Linked DNA regions of Homo sapiens: region 2 is linked to region 1. Evidence: promoter capture Hi-C in 16 types of primary human blood cells and fetal thymus (Javierre and others, 2016). All regions are on one chromosome and are shown on one strand. The core of a region is centred on a gene start or on the middle of the fragment in contact, and the rest is flanking DNA. Distances in the headings are between cores, read along the strand shown.

What was found. Contacts are between HindIII fragments. The CHiCAGO score rates a contact against its expected background, and 5 or more counts as called.
Region 2: a fragment that was not itself captured here is called in contact with the fragment with the promoter of PRMT3 in region 1 in 1 of 17 cell types (activated CD4 T cells); the score reaches 5.5 in activated CD4 T cells.

The regions. Positions count from the first base shown.
Region 1 is chr11:20,385,259-20,389,954 of GRCh38, reverse strand. PRMT3 (protein arginine methyltransferase 3) reads right to left here and starts at 2,239. Exons shown (of 16, transcript NM_005788.4): 1 at 2,181-2,239; 2 at 1,801-1,936; 3 at 129-211. The coding sequence starts at 2,208. RefSeq lists enhancers at 1,369-1,418, 1,274-1,880, 1,881-2,488, 2,362-2,531, 4,411-4,696 and a silencer at 1,969-2,528. The HindIII fragment of the contact is 3,061 bases long and covers 1,593-4,653 here.
Region 2 is chr11:31,365,589-31,370,555 of GRCh38, reverse strand. It overlaps DCDC1 (doublecortin domain containing 1), which reads left to right and starts at 817. Exons shown (of 39, transcript NM_001387274.1): 1 at 817-859. It overlaps DNAJC24 (DnaJ heat shock protein family (Hsp40) member C24), which reads right to left and starts at 696. Exons shown (of 5, transcript NM_181706.5): 1 at 644-696. RefSeq lists an enhancer at 404-883. The HindIII fragment of the contact is 497 bases long and covers 1,002-1,498 here.

The DNA.
Region 1 (4,696 bases), core at 990-3,489:
GTCTTGAACTCCCGACCTAAAGTGATCCACCCACCTCAGCCTCCCAAAGTGCTGGGATTACAGGTGTGAGCTGCCATGCCTGCCCAAATTTCACAAATTAAATTGCCTTTATTCTAAAAACTACTCACCATGTTTATGAACCATGCTGTCAATATTAAACTGATGCTCAGACTTACAGTGTGAAAATGTTTCTTCAGCAGATGTGAATAACCTGAAAAATCAAGCAATAGCTTCATGGAATAGTCCCCTAAGAAGTCTAAATACTGATTTCATGTTACATATACACTTTTTTTTTTTTTTTAACTCTGCTGGTTTCTAGTTTTACTTCCAATTAAGAAAAAACAAACACACTTGTATCTGAAAGGAAGGGAATCCAGCACTTTTAAAGGGAATTAGTACTTCTGAGTCCCATTTTATACCTAAAACCAATTATCCTTTAAATGTCAAAGTGAATTTATTTGTCAAATAATATCACTGATTTTATCAAAAGGCTTTTAAGAGAGTTCCCTTTGATAGAGTCTGTTTCTCTCAAGTCATACAATTTCTCTACTTGAGATTCTTTTCTCCTCTAAGTGTCAACTCTGCTTTCAGAGGCTTTGAACTGGCACAGCTCAAACTGCTTTTAGAAATAAAGCATAAAATGTAATTTTACAGCTGGCATACTCCCCAAGTGCCTTATTTCAAAAGTGATCTTGTAGTATTCCCAACGTACTTGCATCACAGACACTGTGAGGATCAATCCTCTTTATTATGTGACATGCAAATCTGAAGGCTACTTAAAGACAGGAATACACAGCAGAGAAGCTGTATACCTTATCTATATTCCTAACACATGTGGAGCATTAGTTTTCCACAAATGTTTACCGAGATAGGTTATGTCGACTATTTATGGAGGCTATCACAGCCACGGTACCACTGGTGCTCAATAAATATTTTATGACAACTAGAATATATACAGGCATTCTATCTACCCAATGGGGCTACAGATGAGAACACTAACGCACCACCACTCAGCACCATGCCCAGATACAGGGAACACTGGAAAATGTATTAAAGTAACACCGGCCAATGCCAACCGGGCCTCTTTCATGCCTACTTGCCTAGGACAGGAGCCAAAGCTTCCCAAGACTAACAGGCAGAATTTTAAGTGGCAAGAATGTGAGTTTGGAAATAAGCACACCACAGCTTTGTGACCTTGAGCAAATTATTGATACTACAGTCTTTTTCCTTAAGTGAAAAGTCCTACTTAAGTAAGGTGAACTTCCTTCTTAGACTATGGAAACCGCTCAAATAAAAAAGAAATGTTTCACCTGAGAAGCTCTGTACTGGTCAAAGAATTAGCATGGTAAAGCCGGAAGGCTCCGTAGGGATTATCTAGTTCAGGGTGGCTGCCAAATATGTTACTCGTTAGTAGTAACTCGTTAGTAACTTCACTGTTACTTCCGATCTTGTCCTCATAAAAACAGAATATTCTTAGACCCCATCCCTGACTTGGAAGGATTCAGGTGCAGAGTTCAGTATCATTTTGTTTTCAGCGTCTCAAGTGACAAGATTTGGGAACCACAGATTCAATGCACTACCAGTCAAAAGCTTGCAGTACAACCGGCCTTCCAGTTCACGGTTCCCCCTCTCTACTACCGAGGGTCCTCCTTCTCCACAAGCCCTCACCCCAGACCAGTGGTTCCAGAATTCAAAGACAGGCCACTCTGGCTTGCCTCCCGCCCGAAGGCGTTCCTGGGCACACAGACCCCACGCGCCCGGGCACCCTAGGGCAGAGGCCAGGCGCTGAGGCGGACGAACCTGTTACAGAACAGGCAGGGGGTCTGCTGCTTGCCGTGGGGGAGATCTGCATCGTCCTCATCCTCCCAGGCGGCCTCGTCCCCGCTGTCCGACAGTTCTGGCAGGTCCTCCTCATTCTCCACAGCGCCCCGGCCGCCTAACACACACACACAACAATCAGATCGGCCTCGGACACCGGTGCGGCCCGGGGGCTCGAGGAGCAGGTGACGATGGGCTCTCCTCCGCCCCGTTCGCCCGCGGCCCTCACTCAGCACCTCCTTCATGATCCCTGCGAGCCCCCCACCCTGCCCGGGCCCGTGTCCCGGAGGGTCTTCCACCGGCCCCACAGCGGCGCGGCCTGGGGCTGGACGAGCCGGGTGCTGAGGGGCCAGGGTACCCACCGGTAGCGCCTGACGCTAACGAGCACATGGCTGTGGTGCCCCGAGAGCCCGGCGTGTCTGGGGGCGGGGACCGGGTTGGGCAACGAGCGCGCGCAGCGGCCGCCGACTCCAGGAACGAGCGCGAGCACAAGCGCGAACCCGCGGCGGGACCCGGGCTCCGGAAACTTCGCAGACCGCCGGGAACGCCGAAGCGCGCGCGCTGGCTCGCAATCGCTTCCGGCCTCGAGGCGCCGTGCGGGTCACGTGAGGTGGGGGCGGGGCGAGAGCGGGGGCTCCGCCTCCTCCTGCCGCAGGGTTGGCGCAGTGCGCGCTGAAGAGGCGCGCTGATGACGGTTAATGTTGCAGCCCGGAAGATGACTTTTGTCTCCTCCTTGGGTTGCGGCAGGCGTTAGTGGGAGGTCGCGGCCCGCTGCTGTGAGCCCCAAGGCAGAGAGACGTCGCTGCGGTTTTGGGGTTGGCATCCTGTCCTCTGTGCGCCCCTTTTTCCTGGGATGAGCGGTTAGCGGAGGGGCGATCGGCCCATGACGCCCTCTGGTGGCGGAGGAGGCCAAACGCTGGAGGCTCGGCTGGTTTCTGGGCTCCCAGGTCCTGGAGGGGGTGCAGCTGGCGAGAGGGAACGAACTGCATGGGCCAGGGTGGGTCTACTGCAGGGACAGATAGGTGTCAAACCCCCCAAGACGGATTTTAATCTTTGGTTAAGTGAGAACGTGAACTCTAGAGGCAGCCTGCTGGGTTTGAATCCTACCCACGTCACTTTGTAACTGTGATCTTGGGCAAGTTACTCGACCTCTCTCTGCCTCAGTTTCATCAAATACAAAACAAGGATAATAACTGCACTTGGGCAGGGCACGGTGGCTCACGTCTATAGTACCAGCACTTTGGGAGGCTGAGGCGGGCGGATCACCTGAGGTCAGGAGTTGGAGACCAGCCTGGCCAACATGGTGAAACCCTGTCCCTACTAAAAATACAAAAATTAACCAGGTGTGGTGGCACGCGCCTGCAATCCCAGCTACTTGGGAGGCTGAGGCAGGAGAATTGCTTGAGCCCGGGAGGCGGAGCTTGTGGTGAGCCGAGATTGTGCCACCGTACTCCAGCCTGGGCAACAGAGCAAGACTCCATCTTAAAAAAAAAAAAACAAAAAACAAAAAACCTGGACTAACTTCAGAACTACAGTAAGGATAAAACGAGTTAATACATGTAAAGTGCTCAGACATAACTATTTAAGCCAGGGAGTGATGCTCTCAGATGTGTTGAGAAAGTAACAATCTGGCTGCTGTGTGGGGAAGAACACAAATGTTCCCCTGCCTGCCTCATGCCACGTCCCTTTCTTCCTTTCCTTATATCTCTTCAAACCATAGAACTTTTTTTTGTTTGATTTTTGAGACGGAGTTTCGCTCTTGTTGCCCAGGCTGGAGTGCAATGGCACGATCTCAGGCTCACCGCAACCTCCACCTTCCGGGTTCAAGCGATTCTCTTGCCTCAGCCTCCCGAGTAGTTGGGATTACAGGCATGCGCCACCACGTCCGGCTGATTTTGGATTTTTAGTAGAGACAGGGTTTCTCCATGTTGGTCAGGCTGGTCTGGAACTCCCGACCTCAGGTGATCCACCTGCCCGCGAGCCACCGCCCGGCCCAGAATTCTTGCTTAGGAGGGAGTGCCCCAGGCTCTAGCAGAGTTTATCTAATTGGCCTATCAGGCCCTGCATAATCCTGCCTCTTTCCAATGGAACCCTTCACCTTGGGTCCCACCCTTAAGCCTTTTATTTACTGCTAATCATTGAATGTTCTACACATGGGTAGGTCCCTTTGGTCTCAACCAGAAACACTTTCCTCAGGCCATTTCTAAAATAGTTTCCACCATTATTTCAGGAGTATCCTGTTAGTTTCTTAGCACCCACCATTTGCTTACTTGATTTTTTTTTCTTTTTTGGTGATACCCCACAGCACTGAACAATAAGGGTAAGTAAGGGCCATGTCTCTTTACTTTCATTTCTCTGGCACATAATATGTGGCCTGGCCCATAGTATTAATAGATACTGAATGTATTCACTGAATAAAAATGATGCCTTATATTATTGCTAAATGTACTTCTAAATGTACTTTTCTCCCTTAATTGTAAATTCCTAGAGGACAGAATCCATTAAATATTAGTTTTTGTTTTTGTTTTTCTTTGAGACAGAGTCTCGCTCGGTTGCCCAGGCTGGAGTGCAGTGGTGCGATCTTGTCCCACTGCAACCTCCACCTCCCAGGTTCAAGCGATTCTCCTGCCTCAGCCTCCCAAGTAGCTGGGATTATAGGTGCTCACCACCATGCCTGGCTAATTTTTATATTTTTAGTAGTGACAGGGTTTCACCATGTTGGTCAGACTGGTCTTGAACTCCTGACCTCAAGTGATCTGCCCACCTCGGCTTCCCAAAGTCCTGAGATTACAGGCGTGATTGACCGCACCCGGCCCAAATATTAATTTTGAAGCTTTCTTACATCCTAGGACATTGCCAGAATAGCTGCTGGCTCTCT
Region 2 (4,967 bases), core at 1-2,500, about 11 Mb before region 1:
CCAGGTATAAGTGTACCGACAAGTATGGAAAACGTGTTAGGTATTTCACGATATATATTTATACTTTAATTAATGAACAGCATTAAAAAAAAGAATTTTATAATGAACCAGGTGGTGTATGAACCTCTAAGAAGGTATTTCTGCTAGTCTTATGATAAAACTGGCACACAAGTAAGCACCCACTAAACACGCTGGAGGAGCTTAATGAATATTTACAAAATGAACGAATAAAAAAAAAGCAAAACAGAACATCAAAGAATTAAAATAAATTTGGGGGCATTCCTTCTGAAAGTTTCTCGTTTGCTTTTCCTCCAGATTGTCTGGAGAGCATGATATGGGAAATAACGTCAGCACCAGCTGGTAGAGAACAAGAGTCCCCTGTTATTGGAGAGGCGCTGAGACCTCGCAAAGACAGAGTGAAACTCTCTACGCGAGGATGCCCCAGTCTTCCACGCTCCAGAAGAGAGACCCTACCAGGAGCCCCAGAAATCAGGCAACCTCTTCCCACAGCTATATACACTTAACGAAACAGCCGGGGCCTCCTCAAGCTCGGGACTTGGGAATCTTCTCCATTCACAGTCGGCTTTACCCACCCAGCCATTGGCGGGCACCCTCTCCGCGCTTTATACGACATCAGACCTACCTAACTTCACATAGGCGCTGCTACCCACTCCTCGCCTGCTGTCGGCCAGAACTCCGGACCGGCTTCTTCTTCCGCCGGAAGTCACTGTTCCGACGTGTTCGCGTTTCTGGCCGAGCTGATGTGGCCGTGGCACAGCTCAGAAGCGACGCTCCGCCCACCCCGACGCGGTCTCTATGGTAACCGGTCACCGCTTCTATGGAGTGGCGTTTACTACCAGTAAGTTCCCAAACTGTGAAGAAAGGCGCCTTTGGCTTCGCTCTAAGTCTCTCTTTTCCGGGCCCCGCGACTGTCGCTTCTCTCCTCCTCCTCAGCGAGCACCCCCTCGCCATCCCAGGCTTTCCCCGCCTTTTTCAAAGCTTCCTCCGTTTACCGTACCCTGAGCTACTCTCAATCTTTTCGGTTGGTGCTTGAACTCTGGGGTGAGAGAGGGGTGCGGGGGCAAGGATGTGAGAAGGATGAGGAGACCTGATGCCACTCTCGTCCCTACAGTTCCTTTACAATGTTCTAATTCGAAAATTAAAAGAACTAAAACCTATGCCAGGTAGGGCTAGATGTGCGGGGGATGGGGTCGGTTTAATTTTTTCTGCAGAAGATATTCGACGTAATTATTAATATTTCTTTTAGACCTTAGCAACCAACTTACAACATAAAAACGTTCCAAAATTCTTTCACATTTGCTATTTCACTTCGCTTTCATTTCAACCCAGTGAGACAAGTAAGGCAGGTGCCATTATTCCCACTTTATAGATGAGGAAAGAAATCAAGGATCAAGGCCAAACAGCTAGTTGGGTAGGGGCAGAACAAGGACTCAGCAAGTCTACACATTCCCAGGGCAGCTATGCTATCTTTCAAGCTTACAGAAAAAAGCAGAATGAACTGTTCTTCTTCGAAGCAGTTAGGGGGCACTGCATATGGGCACTGTTGGGGTTTGTTATTGTTGCTGGTGGTGGTGGTGGTGGTGGTGGTGGTGTTTTTCTCACCTTTCTTTCTTCTCCCTTTCTTGATTCCTGTGTTTCCTTTTATTACTTCTTTGTGCTGCTTACTTTACATTAACACCTCTTCCTAGCATTGTACCTGGAGATGAAAACTACATCTTATTTTTGGCCAGCATGACATAAATTTCACTTGGAGATGTTAAAATGGTTTTGTTGTTACTGCTTTGATTTTGCTTTCCTTCTTTTTTAAACTTCTACCAATCTGAGTTTGAGAAGCAGTCAAGATAAACTTAAGCAGAATAAATAAAATAATCTAATATGATCAGTTATTTAATGATGTTATGAACTATAAAGAATAACTGAATGAAACAAGCAAGTTTAAAAATCTAAAGATGAAAGCATAGATTAGGTTCTCCACAGGGTTTTGTCATGTTTAAAGGCAGATACAAAGAGCATCTGGTTTTAGTCCTGGCTGCATCATACTTTCTTGTGTGGCCTCATGAAAATACCTAAAGCAATGGAATTAAGTAGTGTGGTGAATGCTTTTCTAAACAGTACTGTCAGAATGATGCCACCTTGAACATCTCTAGCCCTCAAACTCCCTTCTGTCCACAGCTTGGTTCTTCCTTGTGTAGGTAGATATGCTCCGGTACTCCAGGTTTTTTGTTTTTTACAGCAAAAGCATTTTATTTTGATTTACTATTTATTAGGTTATTGTGTTACCTTATTTATTTATTGGGGTTTGGAAAGTAAGAAATAGTTTTTTTCCCCAGCAATACCAAATATTTTGTCATTTCATCTCTACATACTTTAGTTTGCATCCCTAAAATGTACCAACTTTTTCTTTTATCTCCATAATGTCATTATTGGACTGTCACATAATATCTAGACCTTACTTACATTTCCACGGTTAATTGAAAATGTCTTTTTCTGGTTGGTTTGCTTGACTCAGAATCAGACAAAATGTACACTTTCCATTTAGCTGTTCTGTCTCTTAAATATCTTTTAAATTATAGCAGTCCCATTTCTTCACTAGAACCTTGTTTTTTTCTTTACTTGCCATTGGCTTACTGAATGAGAACAGTTGTCTTACACTCTGCTTATACCAAAATAAACTTCTTAAAACAATTTTTACATAAATTTCTGATCATTAAGCTTCCTTCATTTTTCATTTTATAGAGCAGTACTTTCCAATAGAAATATAATGTAAGCCGTAAGTGCAAGCTACAAAATTAATTAATCTAAAAATTATTAAGGCGATACTTTACATTCTTTTCTCCTACTAAGTCTTCAAAAGCTGGTATGTATTGTGCCCGAACACACCTCAATTTGAACTAGCACATTTCAAATGCTCAGTAGCCACATGTGACTAGTGGCTACTGTATCCAGCAGGGCAGGTCTAGAGAATAAAGTCCTAACTCCTTAACCTAGCATTCAAGTTACCTCTTCAATATGATCCTTACTTTTCCAACCTCCCCTATTATCTCCATACATTAAACATTTAAACAATTGGATCTTTTCATGGTACTGAAATCAACCCAACAGTCCCATAGACAGGGTTTTGTTTGTTTGTTTAGTTTTGTTTATTGGGGTTTTTTAAATTAATAAACATAGAAATGGACACTTCTTTTCTGAAAGCTTGAAACTTGCATTTGTTTTATCTTTTTGTTTGCTTGTTTGAGACAGAGTCTTGCCCTGGTGTCCAGTCTGGAGTGCAGTGGCATGATCTCAGCTCACTGCAGCCTCTACCTCCCAGGCTCAAGTCATCTGCCCACCTCAGATTCCCAAGTAGTTGGGACCACAGGTGCATGCCACTATGCCTGGCTAATGTTTGTATTTTTTTTTGTAGAGATGGAGTTTCACCATGTTGGCCAGGCTGGTCTGGAACTCTTGAGCTCAAGCAATCTGCCTGCCTCAGCCTCCCAAAGTGCTGAGATTACAGGCATGCGCCACTGCGCCCAGCCACATTTTGTTGATCTTTATCTCAGTTCCTTCCTCAAGAAAGGATGCCCAGACCTCTCAACAAGTATCAAAGAGCTGAAACTCACCAGATTACTGCATCTAGACAGTGATATGCCAGACCCCTCATTCTTCGTTATTGTTTCCTTACCCTTCCTTAGTTCCTGTTTTCTCATACGTAGTTAACATTTCTTCCCTGTTATATAAACCCCTAATTTTAGTCAGTGAGGAAGGTGAATTTGACACTGATGTCCCATCTCCTTGGCTGCAGCATCTGATTAAAGCCTTCTTCTTTGACAATAATCATTGTCTCAGTGATTGACTTTTTGGGTGGTAAGCAGCAAGACATAGATGGAACTCCTGGTGTTTTGGTAACAGCATTTCATCAATAATTGTGTTCAAATGCTTCTCCTTACTTATAACACCCTAATTCTTTTCTTCCTCCTATCAGAGTAATCCCTGCTTTAAGGCCTATCTCTTCCATCAAGCCTTTTATGATGGCCTGGTCCTTAGAACTTACTGCCGCCCCTCAACTTTCATAGCAAGTCCTTTGTATATCACAGTATATTGTTTTCCTTAGAATATATTCTGATTCCCCAGTTGGGTTGCAAGCTTTCTGAGAGCAAGAACACCTCTCCAGAGAAACTAAGAACCAGCTATCTTGCCTCATTCTCTGGAGTTCTAATGATACATAGCTCTAATAGTTTTGTTTCTCAGTATCTTATATTTAAAAGGCAATTTATCCATTTTATGTGAAACTTACATAGTGGAAATATAAACTATGTTAGTATCATGGTTAAAAGCATGAACTCTAGAGTCAGAACATATGTGTTTAGTCCAGGCTTTTCCTCTTACGGCTATGTGAACTTAATTCATCTCTTTGCTTTGGTTTCTTCCTCTGTAATATGGGAGTAATAATAGTATTTCCCTCATAGATTTGTTGTGGGAATTAAATGAGATAGTTGTGCCTGAAAGTAATAAGTATTCAGTAAAGGTTAGCTATTGTTGTTATTATTAATTAATAATATTTGTTGCACATTTGATATATTAGAATGTTGGACATTCATAACAGTATTTTAGGAATTTCCAAAGAGAGCAAATGACAGCAAGAAACAATTGAATTGGAAAAATAAAATCAAACCCAAATATTTGTTGAACTGTACATTTGGTTGGACTTCAGAATAAATTAAAAGGATAGGCAAAACTTTAGTTTGCGTCATCAGCATCTAACATAACCAAGGTAGGCGTATATTAAATATTTGATTCCCAGATGATTGATCAAGTGCTATAGATGTAGCTAGATACATCAGGAGTTTAAGATCCTTTGTCATGATGATAGGAAAAAATGACATTGTTATTAAATCTATCACTTTGGTACACGCCTGCCCGTAAACTAACGTCTACCAGACATTCACAAATTCTTAATTTGA